Linked DNA regions of Homo sapiens: region 1 is linked to region 2. Evidence: promoter capture Hi-C in 16 types of primary human blood cells and fetal thymus (Javierre and others, 2016). All regions are on one chromosome and are shown on one strand. Each heading gives the region's core, a stretch centred on a gene start or on the middle of the fragment in contact. The rest is flanking DNA. Distances are from core to core; before and after follow the strand shown. Region 1 has its middle 160 kb from the start of LINC02513. Region 2 holds the start of TLR10 (toll like receptor 10).

Evidence for each region. The method cuts DNA at HindIII sites, captures the fragments that hold promoters and counts their contacts. A CHiCAGO score of 5 or more calls a contact.
Region 1: a contact is called between a fragment that was not itself captured here and the fragment with the promoter of TLR10 in region 2, in 1 of 17 cell types (total CD8 T cells). The highest score is 5.5, in total CD8 T cells.

Annotation. Positions count from the first base shown.
Region 1 is chr4:38,209,958-38,212,657 of GRCh38, forward strand. No RefSeq gene overlaps it. Among named protein-coding and RNA genes, the nearest start is that of LINC02513, 160 kb to the right of the region's middle. The HindIII fragment of the contact is 5,169 bases long and covers 1-2,700 here.
Region 2 is chr4:38,781,726-38,784,425 of GRCh38, forward strand. TLR10 (toll like receptor 10) reads right to left here and starts at 1,265. Exons shown (of 4, transcript NM_030956.4): 1 at 1,196-1,265. RefSeq lists enhancers at 145-354, 417-586. The HindIII fragment of the contact is 660 bases long and covers 638-1,297 here.

The DNA.
Region 1 (2,700 bases), core at 43-2,542, 570 kb before region 2:
AGTGCACTCTTGGGGTTTTGATAGCTTACCTGACTTTTTTTTTTTTTTTTTTTTTAATAGACAGGGTCTCACTCTGTTGCTCAGGCTGGAGTGCAGTGGCACGATCACAGCACACTGCAGCCTCGAACTCCTGGGCTCAAGTGATCCTCCCACCTCAGCCTCCTGCGTAGCTGGGACTACAGACGCACACCACTTTGCATGGCTAACTTTTAAATTTTTTGTAGAGACGAAGTCTCCCCATGTTGCCCAGGGGTGGTCCAGAACACCTGGCCCCAAGCCGTCCTCCCACTTCAGCCTCCCAAAGCATTGGAATTATAGATGTGAGCCACTGCGTCCAGCCGGCCTTACCTGACTTTTGAAAGCCAGGTGAAAGAGAGGTTCAGGACTCCATATACACTGTCTACACTACAGCATGGTATACATCTCTCTTTCTAAATCCTTGCTGGGCACACAGGATTCTTCACAAACCAATTTCAACAGGGAACAGCCCATCTGAAAAATATGCACCATTCCTAAAGTCATGCCTTGCATTCCTGTGAAAGTCACTCCTGACTTGCTAAATAGCCACTGCAGGGCGCCTCAGAGTGACCACGATTGAAGTTGGATGAAACAACTTCTACTGATGCCAAATGGTGGTATATCACCCTGCCTGCGGACTAGTGGCGCCATGAATGTAAGATAATATTATGACAAGGAAGTTAAGAAGCACAGGAAATGAAAACAATACAGTGGCTTGGGATACAGATCCAGGACAGAAACGACTTCAGAGCGGTCAGGGTGTGTTTGTAAAAGCATAGGTTGTTTAAGCAAAAAACCATTGGGCAGAAACCCATAGCAGCCACTCTCAGTCCGCAGCTCACCAGGAGAAGTGCAGAACGTTTTGAAAAACTGTTCCACTCAAGCAAGGACTATGCTAGACAGAGGAGAGCTGTTGAGAAGGCAGAGGCTGTGTTTGGCCAGCCAAATCCCTCACAGGGCCACATTTGCTGACTAAGTAAATAAGAGTGGATGCTGAGAGGGGCCGTTAGAATGTGCAAGGGCTCACTTTAAAAATATGTTCCTAGGCTGGGTGCAGTGGCTCATGCTTATAATCCCAGCATTTTGGGAGGCCTAGGTGGGACGATCACGAGGTCAGGATTTGAGACCAGCCTGGCTAACATGGTGAAACCCCCGTCTCTACTAAAAATACAAACATTAGCTGGGTGTGGTGGCACGTGCCTGAAATCCCAGCTACATGGGAGGCTGAGGCAGGAGAATAGCTTGAACGTGGGTGGCAGAGGTTGCAGTGAGCCGAGATTGCGCCACTGCACTCCAGCCTGGGTGACAGAGTGAAACTTTGTCTCAGAAAAAAAAAAAGAAAATATGTTTCTATTTCCTTTGCTTCCTCTTATGTTCTGTTGATTTAGCACATACTGTGACAGCTTTTACTTTTGGCCTGATGGTAGCTTGGTCAGGGAGTCTGAATATGTGGACAGGGTACAGGATTTGGTCCTCTTGTTTAGTGTTCATTTCTGCAGTGGATCTAACTCCTGGCGGTCCTTGATAAGCTGATCTGGGGCTTTCCTAGGTCCCCTAAGCCTGATGAGACTGCACGAGTGGGCAGGGGAGGGACTTAAGATTCTTGCCAATCTGACCGTAAGATAAACAGGGGTAAATGGCCAAGAGATGTTGGCCAGAGGAAGGCCTTTGAGTGCCTCAGGAACCAAGTAGGAGAGGAATCTGAGGAATTGAGGCTGCTCAGACGTGCCAGACGTTGGCTGGCTGGTTTCCAGTGGTGAGCCAGATGGTTTTGAGAACCAGAGGCCAGTATTTTGGGCAGGAGTAGTGACTTGTGAGAAATGAAGTAGAAAAAGGCCAGGAACCCTGACATCTAAGAAGGTGGATGGATGGGATGGCAAAGAGTCTTACACCCCAGAAATCCTCCCATTTCAGATAAGGAATAAGAGGTACACTCTAGACCCAAAAACTGTGTTTTGGGTGGGAGGAGACTTGCCTAGAGACCCGGCCAATAGGACATTCCAAGAGGTGAGACTGATCTGCCAGCCGGACTTTCAATATCCAATTCACCCTTTTACTTACTCTAAGCCCAAGAAATGAGAATTAGGGGAACCCTATCTCTGTGAGGGAAATCCCAGCTCCAAAAAGTTTATCCCCTCAAGATGAGGTGATCAGTTCCCAGAACTGCAGCAAAGCCTGAGGCTAGGGCACCCAAAAACAAAGCTCCAAGAGCATTCAGGAGAACTGAAGGGAGGATTGTGGAAGCATCTCAGAATGTTCCAGGGCAGCAGAACAACCAGGCATGCTCTTAGGGTCATGTAACATTAGATGCTAAAGAGGCCCTAGGAATCTACACAGAAAAGACCTGGCTGGGCGCGTTGGCTCATGCTTGTAATCCCAGCACTTTGGGAGGCCGAGGCGGGCGAATCACTTGAGGTCAGGAGTTCGAGACCAGCCTAGCCAACATGGTGAAACCCTGTGTCTACTAAAAATACAAAAATTAGCCACCCATGGTGGTAAACAGCTGTAATTCCAGCTACTCGGGAGGTCGAGGCATGAGAATCACTTGAACCCGGGAGGTGGAGGTTGTAGTGAGCTGTGATCACATCACTGCACTCCAGCTTGGGTGAAAGGGAGAGACTCCACCTCAAGAAAAACAAAACGAAACAAAAAGACCCACACTGCTTTATAAAATTTTGAGGT
Region 2 (2,700 bases), core at 15-2,514:
ATTTATCTTTTCCCAATGATATAAAGAAATAGAAAAGAGATTAAGAACCTATTGAATGTTGAATGATCTTTGCAACATAAGAGTAAGAATGACTTCTTTTCAGTATTTCCTACGTGTCTGACATGGAGCTAAGTGTTTTATGTCCATTACCTTGTTTAATCCCTCAATGACTCAACAAAATGGCGGCCATTATTATTCATATTTTACAGATGGAGGAGCTAAAGCCCAGAGGTAAAGTAACTTGCCCAAGATGACCAACTGAAGAAGCAGAGATTTGAACCCAGACCTGTCTGGTTCCTTCTGGATGGTAACTAAACCCAAATGCAAGGCACCTCAAACCTTGAAATGAGGTGGCTTAAGATGTAACGACATCCTAAGGACCGAATCACTGAGGTTGAATCCATTGATCTGACCAGCTGCCATGGCGGCCACTTCCTCCTTTCTCACCCCATGCCCCTGTCTATGAAGCTTCATGCAGCTGCTGTGGGACACTCTGCTAGGTGCCACAAAGTTCAAGAGACTTTGCCTACATGTATAAATATATTCTTAGGAAAGTTATAAGTTCACAAGAATTGAAATAAAACTCGAAGTGCATCCTATTCCTAATTAATAGCTCAGTGTAGGTGGTCTGGGAGAAAGCTTATCAAGAAACCAAATGCTCACAGGTTGTTAACCATCCTCTTCTTTACAGCAACCACATATGGCCCTCTTTGTCCACTTCTGAAGGAAACGGAATAAGAACTGCATTGTACAAGATCCATCAGATCTGCCCCTACTTTTAAACAGGTAACACAAATGCAGAACTTTTCAACGGGGTAAAGGAGCAACAAATATGCCTTAAATAGCCAAAGGTTTCATCCAGCAGAGGTTAACATACGCTGTGGGGAAATAAGAGCTAGAAAAAACTTGCCACAGTGCATAGGACCGTTCAATCTGAATAGAAGAGCTGACCAGGTTTGATCCGCAATCAGTGAAAAGAAACCCACGCTCTCAAGCATCTGCAAGAAATTCCTCAGATCAATAGCCCCAAGGTCACTAATCATTAATCTAGACAAAATAGTAAATACTAAAAATCTAAATAACCCTACTTCCCTCCCCTCAATATTAGCTCAAATTATCTCCTTTTTAGAAAATACCCATGCAGCCCTTATATCTTTTTAATGAGAGTTACAACAAACAAAGCTAAGGTTCTTACCCCACGGCTTGCACTCTCTCAGCAGAGCTGCAGGTGCGTGGATGATTCGTTGACACGGTCAGAATTGGCTGCAGGAGGGAATTGAATCGAGGTTTTCTGTAAAGCTTAAACCCCATCCGCCCTCTTCTGCATGCTACTGGTATTGCATGTTATATATATTCATTATAATCTTAGCACTTTTTTAAATTGTGGTCAAATACACATAACATAGGAGTTATCATGCTCACCATCTTTCTATTTTTATTTTTATTTTTATTTTTTTTGAGGTAGGGTCTCACTTTGTCACCCAGGCTGGAGTGCAGTGGTGTGATCACTGCTCACTGCAGCCTTGACCTCTTGCGCTAAAGCCCGCAAGAGGCTGGGCTTCTCAGTCCCGCAAATGTCTGGGACTACAGGCGCTCACCAACTGGCCTGGCTAAGTTTTTTGTATTTTTTGTAGAGACGGGGTTTCGCCAGTTGCCCAGGCTGGTCTTGAACTCCTGAGCTCAAGTGATCTGCCTGTCTCGGCCTCCCAAAGTGCTAGGATTACGGTGTGAGCCACCGCGCCTGACCTTAAGCATTTTTAAATGTACAATTTAGTGGCATTAATTAAGTACATTCACACTGTTGTGCAACCACCACCACTGCCCATCTCCAAAGATTTTTCGTCATCCCAAACTGAAATTCTATGCCATTAAAAAATAATTTCCCATTTTCCCCTTCCCTCAGACCCTGGAAACTATAATTCTACTTTCTGTCTGTGTGAATTTGACTACTCTAGGTACCTCATGTCCGTGGAGTTATACCATATTTGGTTTTTTGTGACTGGCTTATTTCATTGAGCATAATGTCTTTAAGGTTCATCCATATCATTTCTATTATTATTACATAGAATAATAGAATCTTTCCTTCCTTTTTTAAGGCTGAATACTATTTTGTTGTATGTACGTCCCACATTTTGTTCATTCATTCATCCATCAATGGACATTTGGGTAGTTTTCACCTTTTGGCTCTTGTGAATAATGCTGCTGTGAACGTGGTGCACAAATATCTATTTAAGTTGGTACTTAACATTCTTTTGAGTCTATACCTAGAAGTGGAATTCACGGATCGTATGACCATTCTGTTTAATTTTTTGCAGAACTACCATACTGGTTTTCCACAGCATCTTAGAGCTCTTTGATGATGCTTTTCTTCAAGGTGCAGGTCGGTTATCCCTTTCATCAGTTGGGTGGGGCAGTCATGTGATGATGGGCAGGAGTAGGAATGGTGACTCCATAATTTCAGCAATCAGGCAGGAAGAGGGTGGAAAGGAGTTATCTAGAGCAGTGGTCCCCAACCCCTGGGCCACAGACAGGTACCAGTTCATGGCCTGTTAGGAACCGAGCCACACAGCAGGAGGTGAGTGGTGGGTAAGCAAATGAAGCTTCATCTGTATTTACAGTCGCTCCCCATCGCTTGCATTACCACCTGAGCTCCACACCCTGTCATATCAGTGGCAGCATTAGATTCTCATAGGAGCTTGG